Linked DNA regions of Homo sapiens: region 2 is linked to region 1. The links are contacts of gene promoters, found by promoter capture Hi-C in human tissues and cell types (Jung and others, 2019). All regions are on one chromosome and are shown on one strand. Each heading gives the region's core, a stretch centred on a gene start or on the middle of the fragment in contact. The rest is flanking DNA. Distances are from core to core; before and after follow the strand shown.

Evidence for each region. The method cuts DNA at HindIII sites, captures the fragments that hold promoters and counts their contacts. A contact is called where the count stands out against the background at its distance.
Region 2: a contact is called between a fragment that was not itself captured here and the fragment with the promoter of FGF4 in region 1, in 1 of the 25 tissues and cell types used here (neural progenitor cells).

The regions. Positions count from the first base shown.
Region 1 is chr11:69,773,657-69,777,729 of GRCh38, forward strand. It overlaps FGF4 (fibroblast growth factor 4), which reads right to left and starts at 1,685. Exons shown (of 3, transcript NM_002007.4): 1 at 1,089-1,685; 2 at 368-471. The coding sequence starts at 1,428. RefSeq lists enhancers at 1-584, 2,434-3,357 and promoters at 1,574-2,686, 1,574-1,969. The HindIII fragment of the contact is 23,973 bases long and covers 1-4,073 here.
Region 2 is chr11:69,725,783-69,729,855 of GRCh38, forward strand. No RefSeq gene overlaps it. Among named protein-coding and RNA genes, the nearest start is that of FGF19, 24 kb to the left of the region's middle. The HindIII fragment of the contact is 8,947 bases long and covers 1-4,073 here.

The DNA of each region.
Region 1 (4,073 bases), core at 435-2,934:
GCCCACAACAGCTGGTGCTCTCACCACCTGCCCTGCACCTAGCAGCCAGAGAATTCATTCCCTCCGTGTCCAGCCTCAAGCCCGCAGTTCCAACACTGAGACCTACCCCTCTGGACTAGAGAAGGGAAGGGCTCTCAATAGCGCCCTTTCCTCGGTCTGGGAGGGGCCCACTCAGGGATGGCAGGAACCTCATTGTTCCTGCCTTGGGGCTGCTTCCTTTGTCTGGGGAGGCCTGCCGGTCCCGTGACCTGGTGACCCTGCCACCCCTCCAAGACCCAGGCACAGGTGGGGCTGGAGAAGCCACGAGCCTGCTAGCCATGTCCGCTGTTCCCAACTAGGTGCCTAGCCAGACCCCTGCGGTACTCACCGAGCCATAGAGCTTGCCCTTGCTGCTCATGGCCACGAAGAACCGGCTGGCCACGCCGAAGATGCTCACCACGCCCCGCTCCACGGGCGAGAGCTCCAGCAGGCCTGGGGGCGGGGCGCAGGTCATTGCGGGGCAGGTGATCCCTGGCCCACTCCGCCCCTCGGCTTGTTCGCCTCCGGGGACCCTATTTCTGGGGTGGGGTTGGGGATAAAGGGCCAGGGTTCCCGGCGCAGCCGCCCCCAAGGGCCTCCAGAGCCCAAGCTGCCCTCTAGGGCCTCCGGAGCCCAAGCCTGCGCTAGCTCAGATTAGCTTGCCTGTGTAGGGGACCCCCGGCGGCCGCACCCAGTCCCGGACCTTCAGACGCGAGCCCGACCCCAGCGGTTCCCCAGCCTGGGCCAGGCCGGGGCGCGTGTCTCGGGCCCCCTGTGGCTGCACCGCGCGCCCTGTGCCCACGGGCGAAGGCGCTGGAATTCGGCGCTCGGAGCCCGAGTTTCTGAAGGCGGGAGGCGGCGCCCGACCTCAGGGGTTGCGCTGGGCTGCCGGAGCCAAGAGTGTCTGCGTCCCCAGCCCCGCGTCAGAAGGGACCGGAGCCCGAGTCCGCCCCGGTTCCCGGGGCCCCCGAGCAGGTGCCCGCCGAGGGTCTCAGAGTGTGACTGAGCGGGTTGGCCCGGCGGCCGTTGCCCCCCGCCCCCGCCCCTTCGCGCCTGGCCGCGCCACTCACTGTCGCGGGTGTCCGCGTGCGCGCCGCCGATGCGGCCGTCGGGGAGCGCCTGGAGGTGGAAGCCGATGCCCACGTTGCAGTAGAGCCGCCGCAGCCGCTTGATGCCCAGCAGGTAGTCGCCGGCGCCGCTCTGGACGGCCGCCTCCTTGGGCTGCGCTGCCACCGGCAGGCGCGCCAACGAGAGCGCCACCAGGCTCTCCCAGCGGCGCTCCAGCTCGGCCTCCAGCGTGCCGTTGGGTGCAGTGGGTGCGGCGGCGCCCCCTCGGCCCGCCCAGGGCGCCAGCAAGGCCAGCAGGACCGCCGGGAGCAGCGCTACCGCGGCCGTCCCGGGCCCCGACATCCCGGCCCGAGGGCCGTGCGTCGGTCAGGCGGTCAGTGCGCCCGGGAAGCTGGGGGGCAGAGCTGCGCCTGTGGCGTCCCGCGGGAGCGCACGGCCGACCTCGGGCAGGAGTGCGCAACCGAGGAGGTGCGGGAGGCAAGCGACGGGGCCCCCGGGCGCCGGGCTCTACCCCGGCTGCATGGAGCGGCGAGCCGGGCGGAAAGCGCGCGGCTGGAGCTGGGACTCTGAGGAGCAGTGCGCGCCTCCCTGAGCGCCAGGCCCGCCCGAGGCCGAGCCGCTATATATATAGCCCGGCGCCCCCTCCTACTCGCCCGCTCCCGCGGGGGGCCGTTCGCGTTCTCCTGGGCGCCCGGGGCGCTGTGGCGTTCGCGGCTGGTCGCAGGCCGCCTGCCAATCAGGGCCGGGGGAAGGGAGGAGGCTGGGGACTAGCGCCGCGAGTGCCACCTGGAGGGACCCCGGCCCCCACCCTTGGCTCCGCCCGGCCCACGGACCTGTTCGTCCCGCCCCTTGGCGGCTCCTACACTTCTGCTTTTCAGCCAGTTTTGCCTCTTGCACTTTGTCCCTGCCTGTCCCCGTCCCCGTCTCCCTCTCTGCTCCGGCCGCCTTGGCGCAGCCCTAACTCGGGCATCCGAAGCTCCTAGTGGGCGCAGAAGCCAGCGGCTGCTGCCTGCCCTTCGCCTTTCGGAGGCTCACGGGAACTTGGTTCCTTTGCTGGGGCCTTGAGGACCGGCCTGGGAAGGAGGGGTGGATAAGAGCAGTAAGCGACACCGGGGCCTGGCTGGGCAAGGGAGGACCCTTTGGCTACAGGCGGGAGGGAGGCCACCCCCACCCCCTAGGTCTTGGCCCCACAGGCTTGGCGCGTTTCTGGGCTGGAGTTCTGAATACCTGGTGGAGGTCCACCTGAGCCAAAGGGCAAGGTGGCAGAGATGCACCCAGGGAGGCCTGGTCCTGCACCCCCTACACACACACCCTTCCGTGAAAGGACAGGTAGCAGGGCATAGGGCCAGAGGGGATATTCAGCATCCCCTGCTCCTTTGATTCCACAGCAGAAATATCCATGTACCATAGCCAGAGCCCTCAATCTAGCAGGGACCCAGGCCAGGCCTCTGGAAGCCTCCCCTCTCTCACTCATGGTTCTACCTCCCACTGTGCCCATTATGGCCTGATGGGGACTGTCCTAGCTAGATGCAGGCCCACCTAGGTGTGAAAACCCCTGTTCTTTGTGGTCCCTGAGGAGCCTGCCTGGCCCTTCCTGCAGGCCCGCCTAGCCACAGCTGCAGGGGGCTTGGTGCCTACCCCATCTCTCATACCACCAGCACCTGTGACCAGAGATGTCCCCAGGCCACCGCAGCCTCCTCCACCTCCACCGCATCCCCACAGGGAGATTCCTGGGACCCCTTCAGAACCCTGCTGGGGCTTATTCGTGCCCCTGGAGGGGACCTGGGAGGCTTGAGGGCTCTTCTCTGAGGTGCAGAAAGGGGGGCACTTGGGGGTCATCAAGTGGCTTTGGCAGGACCGGAACCTCAGCTCCGCACCCCTTGAGAGGATCTTTGTTCCTCCTTGGGCCTGCAGCCTGCTTGGGCAGCGCCACCCAGACCTGGACCTTCCTGGGCTGCAGCTCACAGCTTCGAGATGCAACCCGGCTGCCTCTGGGTCCTGGGGTCCCCCAGATGAGCCTGCAGATCTGGTGCCAAATAGACATCGTTGGCCAGGGTGCAGGGTGCAGGGTGCAGGGGACCTAGAACCCATCCCTCACTTGCTGTGTTGTCTTTCCATCTCTAGGTCCCTGACTCCCCATTTGCAAAATGACATGGGAGGTGGGCTTTCCTCCCTCAGCCTGGGGCCAACCGAACACACCCTCTGGGGAAGTGAGACCCAGGCCTGGAGACCCACCTGTGCCAGCTGACCTGAGCAGAGGGACTCTGATGTCTTCCCCCGGCTTTTGATAGGATGAGGCTCCTTTCTTCCCAGGACTCCCACAGCAAGCTCAATTTAGGGCTTCCCAAGGACCCCTCCCTGTCTCTCCTATTTGCTGTGAGTTCAGCAAAGGACGCTGCAGGCAGCTGATATATCTCCCAGAACTGCAGGCCCACCCACACAGGATAGGTGCTTGTGGTGACTGGGGACTGACAGCCAGCAGGGCTTTTGGGAGCTGGGAATTCCCAGCAGAACTGATCTGGAATCTGGCTTCCACTTTGCTCCGGGTGCTCCCTGAGCACACTCTCAACCTCCGCAGGCCCTGGCCTCCTCAGCTGTGCAATGGAGGCAACAAAAGCACAGGTAAGGAAGAATTGCGGATGAAGGATGCACCAGGAAGCACTCACTTATCTGCATCTGACCCCTTTCCGTGCCCCTGGCCCTTGACCTGGCTTCCCACCTGCTTCCTTTCTGCTCCTGTGTTCCCGCCATGCTGACCGCGTCATCTCTCCCCTTCCCACTGGATGACCCCCGGCCCCAGATCTTCCTGCCAATGACTTATCCCATTCAGGTTTGCCTGAATGGAGAAGCCACTCCATTGGAGTAGCCACTCGGGGATGCCTTCTGGATCCCCTGCCCAGTCCTTCTGGTTGGAGCTTCTTTGAGCTCTTAAGAGAACCTTCTGCACTTGTTAGCTGACCCTCCACCGCATTTAGATTGTCATCTCC
Region 2 (4,073 bases), core at 1,077-3,576, 47 kb before region 1:
GAGCAGGACTCCATCTCAAAACAAACAAACAAACAAAAAACAAAAAACTGCTGTGTGCTTTTTTTGCACTTTTCAGTATGCCTGAGATTTTCCAGGACAGAAGAAGGAAAAAGTATGCAAGGAGAGACCATAAAAAGGTAGCCATGCCTATCTCTGGAAGGTGAGATTCCTGGCCATTTCCACTTTGATGTTAATAAAACCATCACCATTTATGAAGTGTTTGCGACGGGCCATTGCTTGACAGCTGTCATCTAATTTCAACCTCGTGACAATTTTGAAGAATAGCTTTTGTTGTCCCCTTTTCACACCTGCAAACCTGAAGGAAGAGACAGTGGGATTCACGCTCCTGTCCCTCTGAAGAGCTACGCCCTTCGATGCTTTTCTGTAAAGAATGACCATATATGACTGGAATGCAGTCAGAAAGGAGGAAGCGGCTGTCACAGTGGCTGGGCTTAGGGCAGATTCCAGGCCTCCATGGCCCTGGGTGCCAAATGGCGGGGCCACCATGGTTTCGGGGCCATCCAGGGGGCTGGTTCCCTTTCTCGGTGCTACAAGCAGGTTGTAAAGCACTTTGGAGGCCAATTGGCACCAGGACAAGGAATTGCACCCTTGAGGTGGTTCGTGACCCCATAAATTGCTCAGAGGTGGGAGGCAGCTGGGAGGCTCGGGAAAAGCACAAGCCAGGTCATTGGAGGCTGCTCCTTTCCCAAGGTGCGGCATTCCACGGGGTGATGGCCCTCGGGCCCCAGGAGAGGGAGAGGAACCTGGAGGAAAAGTGGACGCAGACAAGACCCCAGTGGAACGGGCCGGACAGCAGGCACCCCAGGACATTGTGAGTCAGGGTGGACAGGGTGCCTCCCCTGCCGGGGCCTCTCCCTGGGCACCTGCGGAGTCTCCGTAGGCCTGCAGCAAAGGGGGTTTAGGTTTCAGAGCGCACGCACATCAGAGGGACCACATCAAGCGCCTGCAGCTTCCAGGTGTGAATAAACCTATGGGGAGCGCTGGCGCTGGGCGTGGGCCCTGGGAACGGTTTAGATTCCGAGGTAACCCGATAAGCACTGGCTAACACCTGCACTCACTACCTGGAATATACAGACATATCCATCCCCATCCCCTTCCCGTGGGGAGCTGAGGCCTCCATTTCATGCTTGGGGTGCACCTACTTACTGTCTGCAATGTCCCGGCCACATCCACCATCAGAGGGGGAAGGAACCCTGTGTTTCTGAGGGAAAACTGAGGCCCAGAGAGCAAGCCTGACTCTCCGAGGCCAAGCAGAGCTGGGACCCAAGGCCTCCAGCTCGTGCCATCCTGCTGCCCCACTGCGGGCATCCATCTTCTCTGGGATTTTTGGCTTCTGAGGGGGTGCTGCCCAGGAGCTCCCGGGGACAGGGCGTGTGGCTCTCCCTGCCTCACAGAAATGTTTCAGAGGTGGAATGATATGGGCAGAATGATATGCCCATCGTGCCATATGACTCTCAGAACAACACGACAAAATTGCAGGTGCTATGATGGTCCCCATTTAGCCTTGCGTCAGGCGTTTGTCCTGGGCCAGCTCAAAGACCACACAACTGCATCCTCCATTGATTGACGGGCTGCTCTCCAAGGCGCCGGATGGGTGCTAGTGGTGGGCCTGGCTCGGAGGCATCTCCTGGACAGAGCCAGCCTGGATGCAGAACACATGCCCCTCCTGCTCCCAGGGGGTGGCCCAGCCTGTCTGTCCAGGCCAGGCCCAGGGACGTGGAGACCAGGGCAAGAGTTTCACCTGTCCAACTGCTGCACTGCACTGGCCCTGCCTGCCCATGGAGGGCACCGCAGATAAGCAGGGCAGGTACTGGGCGGTCAGAGCCATGATGGGGGTGGCACACCCTAGGGCTGAGGGCCCTGAACTGAGGGCAGCTGATGAGAGGGAGAAGTCATGGAACAGGAGCCAGGGAGCATCCTACAGCTGGAAACACAAGTGTGAGGTGTGGGACTGGGAGTCGAGGAAGCCAGAGTCAAGACTTTGAGAGAGATGGGCATCACCAGGAGGGGAAGGCTGGCAGGTGCTCTGCACTTGCAGTATCTGCAACAGAGAAAAAGATGCCCCTTGCTCTGGACATGCAGCTTGGCAGGCTGTGGGAAGATGGGCATCATCCAGGAGGGGCCCTGGCACAGGGTGTAACCTGCACAGCTGTACCAGGCTGGCCTGCCTGGGCATGTGTGTGTGTGTGTGTGTGTGTGTGTGTGCATATGGATGCGGGCTGCCCAGAGAAATGCCCCCACGTGTGCACACACTTATGCGCACTGTCTTGCACACAAGCCCAGGAGAAAGACTGCCAGAACAGTGGGACCCTGGACGTTCCCTGGGCCAGTTAAGCTCACCGAGGTTTCTCCAGCCTGATTGGTGGGGCCGGCTTGGGAACTGGGAGAGACAATGGCTCTAGAGCCCAGGAGCTTGGATTCACTCTTTCTCATGTGTAGAAAGAATGACATGCCCCTTGTGCCATATGACCCTCAGAACAACACTACAAAACTGCAGGTGCTATGACTGTCCGTGTTTTGCAGAAGAGGAGACTGAGGCTTGCAGATGTTTGCAGAGTTGCCTAGGTCCAGGCAGCAGGTAGGAGGTTGGAACGGCAACAATAGCGACTGCTGCAAGATGAGCCTCAAATCCATGAGATGGGGTTTTGAGGTCCTCCTGTGCTGGCTGTGGTATCTGCATGCCTTTCTGTACCTTGGGAGCTTATGTGCATAAAGAAAGAGTGACCAGCAGAACGCTGGCTGCAGGGGGATGCTCTGCAGGTTGCGGGCACATGAGGAGCTGTCTCCATACTGCATCCTCGGGTGTTTCCTAGTTGGCCATTTGCAGTGAGTACCTCGGGTCTGAATCACCAGGGGTCAGGTTTAAGAGCTGAGGGTCAGAGGTTACCAAGGTACCCATGCCAAGCCAGAGGGCTGACCTTTATTTGACCAAGTCGAGGGACCCCCAGGACCCCAAAGAGGGGCTTCAGGCCCCTGGCTGCCTTCTGAAATGATGCTTGGGGGTTGATCCTAATCGCCCCTAATTTAGGGGCCAAATGGTCAATTAAGGGACTATTAGAGAGTCAGAGAAGCAGAAGGTGAACTGAGGAGACAGATGAGAGGCAGCTGATGCCTCTGCCATCGGAGCTAGGCATGGGTTCTGCCGGCCAGCCCAGGCCTGGGAGGGAGGGTGGCTGCCTCCTCCCCTGGCATTGGCGGGGCTGGGCCTTGTTGTCAGCACCCCCGAGAGACCTGATGGCAACATTTCCTGAGGTCTGCCAGCAGCCAAGTGCCTGGCAACATGCCCCATTGCCATTTCTTCAGTTAATACTCAAATAAGCTAAATATCTACCAAGTGCCTCAGTCACTGGTCAAACACCAGTCTAGGTGCTGGGGACTCATCAGGGAGCGAAGTCAAGTCCCTGCCCTTGAGGAGCTGTAATTCTAGAGGACAGGGTGGGGACTGAAAAATAACTAAGCAGCTAAGTGTGCAATACATCAGGTGCTGCCGGCTTCCCAAGCTTAGTGGCTTCACACAAAACCCTAGTATTGCTCACAACTCTGTGTGCAGGAACTGGGGACTCAGCAAGGTCAGCTTGCGACCGCTCTACCTGCCCGCTGGTCTCCCTCTGAGACTTCCATCCTCAGGAGGCCGGGCTGGGTCGGAGGTCCGAGGTGGCTGCCCTCCTCCACCAGGGACCCCAGGGCTCTTGCACACATGTCTCTCTCCAAAGCAGGGCTGCTTGAGATTGGGCTCCGGCTCACAGATCTGTGGGGTCCTGGAGGCCTTGTAAGAACACTGGCTTTTGCTCTGAGCAAGAGGGTCCCAGAGTACAAAAGCACAAAGGCAGCTGCACTGAGCGGGAAGGGGCGCAGGTAGACTCCGATGGTGGCTGGGACCAGGGGTGGTCAGATTCTGCCTCCATCCTGCAGGGTAAGGGGACAGGGCCTGCTGCTAGATGGGGCTTCTGGCCTGGGAGCAGGAGGGTGAAGTGGCTGAGTCCCCAGCTGGGAGGTGGGTGAAAAGAGCAGGTTTGAGTGGGAGGTCCTGGCACAGTTTGGACTTGTGGAGT